2 separate regions of the Homo sapiens genome follow, and region 1 is linked to region 2. Evidence: promoter capture Hi-C in 16 types of primary human blood cells and fetal thymus (Javierre and others, 2016). All regions are on one chromosome and are shown on one strand. The core of a region is centred on a gene start or on the middle of the fragment in contact, and the rest is flanking DNA. Distances in the headings are between cores, read along the strand shown. Region 1 overlaps ACYP2 (acylphosphatase 2). Region 2 holds the start of SPTBN1 (spectrin beta, non-erythrocytic 1).

Region 1 (6,232 bases), core at 1,950-4,449, 240 kb after region 2:
GTGATGACCTAAAGCCTCTCTGAAGTTGGGAATAAGGAAAGGAAGCCCTGATATCACCACAGTTTTTCAGCACTTTTCTAGACCAGGTTTGAATCTATGCAATGGGTCAAGAAAGGAAAATGAGATCTAAAGAATGGAATTACTGTTTCTACGGGAAACCTAAGGAAATAAAATAAAAATATATTAGAACAAATAAATGATTTACAAGTATGATATGAAACAAATATAATCAGATTCACATATATTTGCACTAGTAATCATCAGAGCAAGTGAGAAAGGGCTTCCACTTACAATAGAAACAAAGAATAAGATATTGTAAAATAAACTTAACAAGAATGTGCAGTAGCTATATGACAAGCTAAAAATGTGATTAGACCTCAGTGCAGTAGCTCACGCTTGTAATTCCAGCACTTTGGAAGGCCAAGGCGGGTGGATCACTTGAGGCCAAGAGTTTGAGACTAGCCTGGCCAACATGGTAAAACCCCATCTCTACCAAAATACAAAAATTAGCCAGGTGTGGTGGTGTGTGTCTGTAGTCCCAGCTACTCAGGAGACTGAGGCATGAAAATCGCTTGAACTCAGGAGGCTGAAGTTGCAGTGAGCTGAGACTGCGCCACTGCGTTCCAGCCTAGGTGACATAGCGATACTCTGTCTCAAAAAAAAAAAAATGTAAACGTGATTAGGAGTTAAAAAAAAAAGATTCATCAATAGAGATATATTTTATATTATTTGATGGGACAATATTATAAATATGTCACTCTCCCCAAATTAATCTTCATATTTAATATAATTCCAATAAAATGTCAAGTTGTAAAATATTTGTATAATTTGACAAATTATTCTAGACATATCTGGAAGATGATCAGCTGTTAGACAAGCCAAAAAACTTTGAGAAAAAGAGGGGTTTTGCTCAACCAGACATCAACTGAAGCATATTATAAACCCTCGATAATCAAAACAGTATAAATCTGGCACAGAAATAGATCATAGAACTAAATATAAAAGTTTAGGGACAGACCTAATTATTTATATGGATTATTGCTTGTGACAAAACCAGCATCTTAAATTAGCAGGGGGATGAATTATTTAACAAAGTTTTTTAGAAAAAATTAAAGTTAGATTCCTGGCTCATAACACATAAGAAAAATTCTACATTGGCTAAAGTCTTTAGTGTTAAAACAGATGAAAACAGAGCTGAATAATTTAAAAATATTTGTATCAGGGAGGAATTCCTCAGCCTGATCCCAAATGCAGAAACCATAACAAGACTGACAGATTGGACTCACAGAAATGTAAATGTAAATGTAAAATGTTTGTGTTTTTTGGCACAAACTCCATATAAAGACAGTTTTTAAATGACCTAATTTTCATCAGTATAAGCTTTATTAAATACATTTATTTATTTTATACATAAATACAATGGAATGTCTTGCAGCCATTAGTAATGATTACAGGGAAATATATTTACTGACATGGAAAGAGAGTCAGAAAAATGATTACACCTAACTATGCATAGTATGCTTCCAGTTTTATAAGAAATTATATACCTTGTTATAAATTTACACAATTTATTGTGAAGTTACAAGTCTGGAAGAATATATGCCCAAACCACAATAGCAGCTATCTACAAGATGGTATCATGGTATCATAGTAAGTATTTTTCTTTTGATTTAATCTATATCTTCTGATTTTTCTAAAAGTAAACATGTATTACTTGGGTAATAAATAAAATGTATTTTTAAGTTCTTTTGATAAAATAACCAAGACACTCAACAAACCAGGCATCAAAGGAACATACTTCAAAATAATAAGAGCCATCTATAACAAACCCACAGCCAACATCATACTCAATAGGCAAAAGCTGGAAGCATTCTCCTTGAAGACTGGCACAAGACAAGGATGCCCTCTCTCACCATTCCTATTCAACATAGTACTAGAAGTCCTAGCCAGAGCAATTAGGCAAGAAAAAGAAATAAAAGGATTCCAAACAGGAGGAGAGGAAGTCAAACTTTCTCTCTTAGCAGACAATGTAATTCTATACGTAGAAAACCCCAAAGTCTCTGCCCAAAGGTTCCTAGATCTGATAAACAACTTCGAAGTTTCAGGATACAAAATCAATATACAAAAATCAGTAGCATTTCTATGTGTCAGTAACATCCAAGCTGAGAGCCAAACCAAAATTGCAGTTCTATTCATAGTAGCCACAAAAAGAATAAAATACCTAGTAATATAGCTAACTAGGAAGGTGAAAGATCTCTACAACAAGAATTACAAAACACTGCTGAAAAACATCAGATATGATACAAACAAATGGAAAAACATTCCATGCTCACAGATAGGAAGAATCAATATTGTTAAGATGGCCATACTGTCCTAAGCAATTTGCAGATTTGATGCCATTCCTATCAAACTACCAATGACATTTTTCACAGAATTAGAAAAAACTCTTCTAAAATTCATATGGAACCAAAATGTTTGAATAGCCAAAGCAATCCTAAGCAGAAAACAAAAACAGAAAAAGCAAATCCAGAGACATCACACTGCCTGACTTCAAGCTACACTACAAGGCTACAGTAACCAAAAGTGTGCTATACTGGTACAAAAACAGACACATAGACCAATGAAACAGATTAGAGAACCCAGAAATAAAGCCACACATGTTCAGCCATCTGATCTTTGACAAAGTTGACAATAACAAGCAATGGGAAAAGGACTCCCTATTCGATAAGTGGTGCTGAGATAACTGGCTAGCCATATGCAGAAGATTGAAACTGGACTCCTTCCTTTCACCATATAAAAAAGCAACACAAGATGGATTAAAGACTTAAACGTGAAATGTATAACTATAAAAACCCTAGAAGAAAACCTGGGAAATGAGATTCTAGACGTAGGCCCTGGCAAAGATTTCATGACAAAGACTCCAAAAGCAATTGCAACAAAAACAAAAATTGACAAGTAGGACCTAATTAAATTAAGGAGCTTCTGCACAGCAAAATAAACTATCAGCAGAGTAAACAGACAACCTATGGAATGGAAGAAAATATTTGCAAATTATGCATCCAACAAAGCTCGAATATCCAGAATCTATAAGGAACTTAAACGAATTAACAAGCAAAAACCAAACAACCCCATTAAAAAAATGGGCAAAGATGGCTAGGCATGGGCGCTCATGCCTGTAATCCCAGCACTTCAGGAGGCTGAGGTGGTAGAACTGCTTGAGTCCAGGAGTTCAAGACCAGGGAGATCTTGTCGCTACAAAAAAATAAAAATAAAAAAATAACCAGGTGTGGTGGCATGCCCCTGTGGTCTTAGCTACTTGGGAGGCTGAGGCAGGAGGATCGCTTGGGCCCGGGAGGTTGAGGCTATAGTGAGCAGCGTTCATGCCACTGCACTCCAGCCTGCCTGGGCAATAGAGTGATATCCTGTCTCAAAAAAAAGTAGGGGGTGTGGGGTGGGGGGCAAAGGACATCAACAGATAGTTCTCAAATGAACGCATACACAGAGCCAACAGCACATGAAAAAATGCTCAACATCACTAATCATTAGAGAAATGCATATCAAAACCACAATGAGATACCACCTCATACCAGTCAGAATGGCTACTATTAAAAAGTCAAAAAATAACAGATGCTGGCGAGGTTGCAGAGAAAAGGGAATGCTTATACACTGCTGGTGGGAATAAATTAGAAAGCAGTTTGGAGATTTCTCAAAGAACTTAAAACAGAACTGCTATTTGACCCAGAAATCTCATTACTGGGTCTATACCCAAAGGAATATAAATCATTCTACCATAAAGACACGTGCACGTATATGTTTATCACAGTACTATTCATAAGAGCAAAGACATGGAATCCATCTAGATGCCCATTAATGGTGGAATGGATAAAGAAAATGTGGTACATATACACCATGGAATACTACACAGCCACAAAAAAGAGTGAAATCATGTCCTTTGCAGCAACATGGATAGAACTGGAGGCCATTATGCTAAGCGAATTAATGCAGAAACAGAAAACCAAATACCAATGTTCTCTCTTAAAAATGGGAGCTAAACACTGGGTACACATGGACACAAAGAAGGGAACAACAGACACTAGCGACCACTTGAGGGTGGAGGGTGGGAGGAGGGTGACCATCGAAAAACTATCAGGTACTAGGCTCATTAGTTGAGTAATGAAATAATGTGTACACCAAACAACTGTGACATGCAATTTACCCATGTAACAAATCTGCACATGTATCCCCTGAACCTAAAATAAAAGTTGGAGAAAAAACAGCCATGACATTTAAAAAAAAAAAAAAAGTAAAGTGGCAGCTTCTATTTAAATGAGTGTATTTCTAGATGGTGAGATTACAGGTGATTTAAATTTACTTCTTTACATTAAACTTTTTGAATATTTTTGTACAAGAATATATTTACTCTTTTTGTCAAAATGAAATAAACGTAATTTATCAACTGTGTTTGGCTACTGTGCTGCTGCAGATTACACAACTACTTTAGAAAAGGAATCTGCTGACCACATGGGTGAGCTGACTAATGAGGAATGCATATTAGCTCCTCTGTACCACATCCTTGCTGCCTGGGTCACATTCAATAAGCTATGTGTCAGAAATTAAGCCATTTTCTTTGTATTCATTGGATATGGTAACTCCTGTTTTGATGCTGAGAGTTGGGAAGCAGATAATAAAGCCTGGAAGACAGACCACTACTAAGATGATCATAACTGGGTTTTTCCAGTCCTAGTAAAGCACAAGGAAATGCATTCTCAGTCAGCCGTGCAGGGAAAAGGAGATTACAGCTGAGGTCCCAGGATGACAGGTGAACTCAAATTAAAATTGAAAAGCAGAAATTCTATGTGCAATTTGATATGTAATCTATGACAATTATTTACTACAATGTGAAAGGCAATCCATCCACTTGATTTTCCAAAGATCATCCTCACCCTGTGTGTATTAGTCAATGAAATTAGCAAATTTTCTAAAAGACTTTGCATCCCCCAAAATAAATAAAAGCTTGGGCAATATGAAGATCAGTGAGATAAAACTCTCCAGCTTCAGATTTTTAAAAAAAATCCAAAATTTGCCTCTGCTAAAAAACTAACACTGCCACGCCATCACCACTACTAGTATACCAGTCATTCATTCTTCATTTGTTTATCCCTTCATTCATCTACAGTGAACACCTACTATGTGCCAAGCACTATGGCAGGCAGTGAGTGGAGCTTACAATCAGCCCCTGGTTGAAATCCTGCCCGAAATAAATTAGCTAGAAATAAGTCAGAAAAAAAGAGAGAGAGAGAGAGACAGAAAGAAAGCAGAGTTCCTGGCATCATGAAGCATACAAGTTTGCTCTATTTGCACTTTCAAGCACTGATTATGTCTTACCCTGCTGGTCAATTAAAGATGAAATAATGAGCCTTAAAGTTGCACTGTAATGCAATACATAGACAAAGAAATGGTAGACATCATTTAGATATTTGAAACACTGGTGAGTCTAGAGTTTGGTAAACAAATCACTTCTTCTAATATTGAAATATTCAAATTAAATATAACCAGTAATACATGAAGATTTGAACATCATAGTTTCCAAAGTAAAATAAAATAAAAATTATATGCTCAAACATAGAACTGACAACACTAACCATAGCCAGGACTGGATATAAAAGACACCAAAGCTGAGCTTCCCAATCATACTTTAAACCAAACTAGGTAGATCAGGATACCAAGTAGATGGGATTAGCAGAGCAAGAACTAACAGCAGTTAGGTTTTTCTCTTAAAATAAAACACACATCAAACTTACATAAAATGCATATTTCATATTAGTTAAATATCACTGTAATGCTATACTTTAAGTGGCTTTAGAATTGAAAAACTATTTGCATGTTTAAATGCATAGAAATTTGGTTTTGGAGCCCAAAGTATTTATTCATTTTTTGCCATCAGGAAACTCTAACAGTATTTCTAAAACAAAAATTTATGAATCTATTATTAAAGGTCTTCAAATTATTGATGTTTTAAAAAATATTTCTGTTTTAATTTTTATGATAATCTATAAAAAGAAATTTAAAGATAGTCTGCGTCTTTCAGATGACCCCATGCAACTGAGTACTTCATGAGATCTTTGTGCAGTCGTTTGTATGTACAATTGAGTTTACATCAGTTGACTTCAGGGAAATCTGTACGGCCAGAAGGAAGGCCCTATGGTCCAAATAAGCAGAGAGGTGAAAGAGA
Region 2 (7,049 bases), core at 3,275-5,774:
TTTTGTATTTTTAGTAGAGATGGGGTTTCACCATGTTGGCCAGGCTGGTCTTGAACTCCTGACCTCAAGTGATCCGCCCCCACTCGGCATCCCAAAGTGCTGGGATTACAGGCGTGAGCCACTGCACCCAGCTGGTTTACGATTCTTTAACATATATTTTAGGAACATTATTTTGTACCTACCAATTAGTTGATTCAAAAAAGAACTCTAAGAAAAGACTGGACGAGAGGGCAGGACATTGACTATATCAGATGACAGACATCAAGATGCCAGAGCAGAGGGAGCAGAGAGGACCCTTTGCTCAGGGGTTAGCTTCCGAGGCTCCAGCTCTGATGTCTCAAAACCAATGCCTTTTTCTTCCAGAGGGGAAAAAGACTGTTTTTCAACTTTAGAGGTGTTTTACAAAACAACCTAAAACACTGATTAATCTAAATAAACCATGGTATATAGGACTCTTCCACCAAGAATTAAAGAACAGCTTTATAAAATAATTTTGTATTAAACAAATAATTTACAGTGAGAGCCTCACTTTTGTCACCACCATCAAGGAAAAAAATGTGCTGATACTTCAGCAAAAGAAAGGAAAATTCAAGAAGGAAACTTTTGATATTGAGGTCCCTTTGCTGAAGGAACAGAATAGAGTTTCTTCATTTAATGTGCATACAACTCACTTAAAGGTCTTGTTAAAATGTTGATTCCGATTGGCTGAGTTCAGAGTGGGGCCTAAGAATCTGCATTTGCAACAAGCTTCCAGGCGATTCTAATGTTGAAGGTCCGTGAACCTCACTATGATAGCAAAGGACATTATGAAAATGCCTTCTCCAGAGATGTTTAAAAATAGAAACACAGGTATATCTAATTGGTGTAATTTCCTTTAACCACTGAGTAGAAAAAAATAGATGATGTTATTCCCACACAATAAAAATTTAAATATAATTACAAGTGCTACCGGAAAAATCAGAGTACTAAACTAGGTCTTTTGCAAAGAAAAGATGCCCTGAGAAAAAGCAAAGACTGAAAATTTACAAGAAAAACCCATGAGATGCTTTACTCACTTCCACAGACCTACAAAGTTCACTCTTCTAACAGGGGTAGTTAGCCCCTTCCTTCTGGAAGAATGGTTTGCATTTCCAATAATGTAGTGAAAGAAACTACGGCTGCCATTAAATAAAGCCCAATTATAATGAAGATACTAGTTACGATGCAACATAATTAAAGGAGCATCATGTCATTGCACGTAAAAAAAATTAGGCTTTAAAATGTTCTATAAGAATATGCTATTAAAAAGAAAAGCTTAAAATTATTTCGACAAAATCCACACTGAATGATTTCCACTAATCATGTCTATGTTAGCAGTAGTAAAATCCTTCCACGTCAAAATAGTACTTCCACATGTAAAGTCATACATTCAAACATCAAGACAAAGCAACCACTCTACAAACCCTTCCAGGAAACTCTGCCAATGCCAAGCCTCTGCTCAGGATGTGTCACAAGTAGAGGGAGGTCTTCTCATTTGCTCTGCAACATCACAGATAGTTGTTACTAGTCTTGCCCAAGAGAAGTTCTTCACAGAAAACCTCAACTGTGGGAGACGACCTAGTGACAGCAGTTCCTTCACTGCCCAATACTTCTCCTCTCAGATGAAGGTTTTGGTCACTCCAGTAATGACAGAGTTACAAAGAGCTTAACCCAACAGAATTCTGCACCTGCTGTGTAAGTCAGAACAGCTAAACCTCCTGTGACATCAACACAGGATATTTCTTACAACAAAGTAAATCCAAAACGTTTGGATGATCCATGGGAACAACATTCATAAAAATCTGTACGCAACACGATTTTACACAACCAGCACAAAAAGTCTCATATTTTAATGGCTATTAGAGAAACTCAAAATAACGCACATACACCACACAATGTACATGCAGTTCTATTCTGCAGAGCCACATGAAATCAAAAGCAACTAACTTGGATTCATTAGAAATATTTAAAAATACAAGCAGGCACGCCCTTGGCTTGTAAACACTGACCTTCCCTTCCAACTAGCATATTGAAATTTCCTTTTTCACCTAAACATTTTAGGAAAGCCTGGGTTGACATTTGAAATATATCCCATTTGCCATCCCACACTGAATAATGAATTATAGAGATGGCATTTAGAAGGGAAATTCCCTGTGTCCTGGCCGAGACTAAACATGAGAACACTGGGAACCATCTCCTTCTGACTAGATGCCAGTCAAGAGGCCTTGGTGGTCTGCCCTTCTCCACCCTCTCCCCAGTCACAGCTGTGAAAAATATGTATACAAAAAATACATATAAACAAACACAAACGCAGTGTTACTGTCATAATCCCATTAATTACGCCCGGACACTTAACTTGGCTACCTCAATCAATAGAAATCTGAATACCAATTTAGCCCCCATCATGACACTCATACACCTAATAATCCTTAATAAAGCATCCAAATAATGCAACTGTACTTGACTTAGAAAAAGCAAACGATGAAAACAAAATACAAGCTAAAGGAATCATTTACTATCCATTAAAAAACATATAAATTCCTTTTAAAACAACCTACTGAATTTTAATATACTTATAAATGTCTTAGTGACATAAAACCCAAAATGCATTAATCATTTCATTTAAAAATGGTTTCCTACAGAAAAAATGCATACTTGGTATTAACCAAAGACAGACGAGGTACTGTAATGTCACAGTTGTGAAGGTCCAATTAATAAACACCAACTTTTCACGTAGAAAAAATTAATGCATAGCTGGGTTGTGGTTACAGATTATGGACGATCCACAGAAAAACGCTGCGACTCCCCACACTGCAACATTGCCTCCGCACACCACTGGGCCCAGTCCTTCCTGCAGCCCCTCCCTATGGCTCAGGTCCCCTGGTCGCAGATCAGATTCCGATCCGCAACCACAGGCCGGCTCCCCTCTGCCTGCACTGGTGATGCAGGGCGCCCCTCCGGCAGAGCGCAGCCCAAGAAGAGGTGCAGGAGGGATCATCCCAAAAGAAAAGACTCTCCCCTGCTCACACCTAGCTGACCTGGTCCTCCTGACGCCACATCCAGCAGAAGCTGCAGGACAAGGTAGCAGCAGCTCCAGGCCTCGGCCAAGGGCAGCCCCGGGCCTGGGTGGGGCCGGGCGGGGGCCGCAGGCGCCGAGCGGCCGTGCCAAGCCCCGCCAGCGAGAACCAAGGAAGCTGCGATACTGCTGCATTGTGCTGCATCACGGCGAGGGCACCGTGAGCCATCCATCTTGCCAAAAAAGCACATCCCCGCCCAAATAAACCCCACCGAATTCAATTTTCTGCTCCGCCGAAGCACCCCCACACGCACCCTGTCCTCACTTACTATCTGGCCTGGCTTTCGATTGGAAAAATAATGGACAGAGGTTTGCGTTCTGATCCCCACCCCCTCCTCATCTGATGGCAGCAGTTGGCACCTTTCCTATCACAAAAACAAAGAGAAGGCGCCCCCTAAAAGAGGGCCGTGGGCGTGGTGTGGGGGGTGATGACGAGCCAGCCCACCTACCCAAAGCAGGCCCGGAGGGTCCCTGCGCTGAGACAAACCTGTTGAAGAGAGGGTGGCAGGAGCTGAAGGGCGGGCGCAGCGGCGGCTCGGCGCCCGGAGGCGGCTCACGCCCAGCCCTGGGAGAGTGGGGACGGCAGAAAGGGCGGGGGGGGGGCGGGCGCACGAGGGTAGCAAGCGCAGGGATGGGGCGGAGGTGGGGGCGCGGGGCCGCCGCCTCCGGCTCAGCTGCAGCGCGGCGCAGCCGGGACCACGCCTGGCCGCATCCCCTGCACCGCTACGCGCAGAGCCCGGCCCTGTCACCGCCGCCCCCGCTCCCCACCCGCGGGGCCACAGAGAGGGCACCTGAAAATAGACCCTCCGGCTGTCCGCTGTCCGCTCCGCACCCACCTCCGCGCCAGGGGCCTCCGCGTCAGGGGCCGCCGCGCCCGGCTGCAGGGAGGCGCCGGCGGAGGCAGGGAGGAGGAATCGCCGCGCCGCGCCGGGGCTGGGGCCGGACGGCAGCGGTGCGCACGGCGGGTCTGCTGCCGCCTCACCGCAGAGCCTGCCGCCCCTCGTCCCGCATCATCCGAGTACCAATGAGCACCCGCGACCCGGGCTCCCCGCGCCGCCCCCGCCCGGGCTTTGCAGCCTCCCTGCCCCCACGCGGCTCCCCGGGCGCAGGGCAGGCGGGCAGCGGCGTCCTCCGGCCCTGGGCCCGCGCCCCTCCTCCCGCCCGTCCGCCGCCGCGGAGCCCACCCGGGAGGCAGCCCCAGTGAGTTGGCATCTCCCTGCCTCGGGCCCCCTACCTACCTCCCGGGGATGGGGTGGGGGCGCCGGGGTCCCGTCCTCCTCCCGCTCCTCGGCGGCCGGGCGGGTGGGCCGGGAGGCGACTCCGCGGGTCTGTCCGCGGCTGGGGCCGGGGCTCACAGGACGGGACCAGTGGGCGCTGCTGCGCAGGGCTGCGCGCTCGCTCCGGGAGGAGAGGCGGCCGAGGGAGGGACTGGAGGAATCCGCAGCCTGCACGGCAACAGCGGCACTGATTCCGGGGGCTGGGCGGGAGCGCGGGGGGCGGGGGGAGGAGGAGAGGAGGGCGCTCGCAGGGAGGGGGCGAGGGGCGGGGAGAGGAGCGCGCGGGGCGGGCGCGCGCGCACACACACACAAGCGCACTCCCGGGATCCCTCCCGCACGCCCTCCGCCCTCCGCACTCCTCCCTCCCCACTCCCGCCCGCTCCCTCTGCTTCGCCCGCCCTCTCCTCCTGCCCGGAGCCCCGCAGCCGCCCAGGGAGCCGAGCCTCGGGCGCGTCCACGTCCTCTCCAGCTGAGGCTCTTCCCGGGTCCAGCCCGGACCTCATCCTCCCAGCGGCGGGGACCGACCAGGCTGGCCGGGGCGGGGTGGGCACTGCTGCTGCCGCTACCCGAGCAGGACAATAGGGGCTTTGTCTCCACAGCCGGAGAGGGCCAATTTCACGTTTAATTTGAGGCTAATTCGATTATCGCCATGGAAAGAGGCGGTCTAATTTTCTACGTGATTTGTGCAGCCTCTTTTCGCCCTTGATGTTGCGTTCGGAATGCTGGGGAGAGAGGGTATTTAGGGAGGTTTTGGAGCGTCACTTGCTTGGTTGGTTTGAGATGCAGTTGGTGATGCCTTATAGGTTCTACCCAACTTGGAGAAGGGCGACGGCGACCTCTTCGTGGGAAACCTTGGGCGCTGGAGGATGGGTGGTGGGGGTCGTTCCTTGTGAGGTTAATGTATTCTTTTGCAAATGCTTTTTCGCCCACCCTTTCGCTTTGGGTAGCTGGGAGCAGACCCTACAAGTGGTTCATCCAACTCCTGCCTCTCAGTGCAGGCTCCGCTCGAACCTGAGGCCAGGTGCCCTGCCCCAGTCACTCCCGAGAGAGGGGTCGTCCGGCCGCGGTGGAGGGCCCCGTGATGGCGTGGGGACTTGCGTTTTCCCCTATGCGCATTCCCTGAAACGGAAACTGGACGTTTCCTCAAATTTTTGTCATGTGCCACTGCCCCTTCCCAGTCACCTGGTCTACCCCGTCAGCCCCTCAGGCTGTGTAGAAATTCCAGAACCGTCACTGTTGTGAAGAAAAGATGGTGGAATCACCAGGACCACGAATGGAAACGCTCTTTAGAAAAGCAGTTTGAAGAAACTGACTTTCTCCTTGTTCTGTAAAGTGCACAGGGCGGCACTGCGGGCATTCAGAGGGAGGAGGGCCCTTCCTGTTTGAAAAAGCCCCAGGGCTTTTTCCCCATACAGACCTGATCACCTGGATTAAAATAAAACAAAAATACACGGCAGCCAAGTAGTTTGTATCATGCTTATATCTCAGATCACTAGAACCTGGCCTGATGGGTTTATATGTTTGTATGTATTTTTAAATGAATATTTTAAAATAAAACTCAGTGAAATCGTCACAGCAAACTGAAGATGATTCTTCCTTTTAGGCCTTCATAGGTTTGAATGTTTGAACCTATGTTTACTTTTGATAGGAAAAAAATTGAGGAAAGCAAATAACATTTTTTCTCAGAAGGTGAATCAACACAACCAGACCGTAAACTCTCTTAAAGGTAGGGTTATTTCTTTCTTCACTCTGTACATATAGCAGGCACTTAGGTACTAAAACAAATTTGTTGAATTGAACACAATCAACTTGTAAGCTGCTGCCCTCATTAGGTAATAAGGGAAATCCACTAGAAAGCAAAGTTGTTTGCCTTTCACTTACTTATTTTTTTACCATGGACCCCAGCACCTCCCCACTCACAATGTTAATGAAATACCAAAGAAAACAGTAACAATATTGGGAAGTGCATCCATTTAAATTAATTCTTCCAGTGTTATTCTGAAATGGTTATTCCTTTATCACAGACAACGGTATTTAAATAAATTTTCATTTGATGAATGATTCACCTCCCTTACCCCATTCCACTCCCACTTACGTTGTTTTTTAATTAAAAAAAAAAAAAAGGCCACACACACCTTAGCAAGGTACTCTAGTAAAGCCCCAGTAATTATTCCAAAAATGTGAAAGACAAGGATTCAGAGTTCTACTGTAAATACCTGCATCACAATTTTGAATTCTTACCCTTAGGTGCAAAAAATCACCCTAGAGAACTCAGTGTACCAACGACCAAAAAGAAGTAACAATTCAAAGAAAAGATAGTACAACTGGAAAGATTATTGGAGAAGACATTTTTATGGAAGGCAAAATCTAAAAAAGATAAAAAGTCTTAGGCAGTGATAACAGCTCAGAAGGATTATTCCCATGTATCTCAGAAGCGGCTTAGTTTCTTCTCATATTAGAATCAGGGTTGATATAAAGGAACCTAGAAGTCTTCAATATCATGTTTGTAACATACTACTCTCCACTTTTAAAACCATGTGATTGCATATGGCTTTATCTCCCATCAAAATACTTTATTACAAAATTTTTACAGATATAAATTGTCATTTTAACTTTCCATTCAGAATGTAGGGGAAGGCTGGGCACGGTGGCTCATGCCTGTAATCCCAGCACTTTGA

What was found. The method cuts DNA at HindIII sites, captures the fragments that hold promoters and counts their contacts. A CHiCAGO score of 5 or more calls a contact.
Region 1: a contact is called between a fragment that was not itself captured here and the fragment with the promoter of SPTBN1 in region 2, in 1 of 17 cell types (endothelial precursors). The highest score is 5.2, in endothelial precursors.

What each region holds. Positions count from the first base shown.
Region 1 is chr2:54,210,979-54,217,210 of GRCh38, reverse strand. The region is part of intron 3 of ACYP2 (acylphosphatase 2); the gene reads right to left. Among named protein-coding and RNA genes, the nearest start is that of TSPYL6, 42 kb to the left of the region's middle. The HindIII fragment of the contact is 3,633 bases long and covers 1,383-5,015 here.
Region 2 is chr2:54,453,802-54,460,850 of GRCh38, reverse strand. It overlaps SPTBN1 (spectrin beta, non-erythrocytic 1), which reads right to left and starts at 4,524. Exons shown (of 36, transcript NM_003128.3): 1 at 4,333-4,524. The HindIII fragment of the contact is 18,714 bases long and covers 1,296-7,049 here.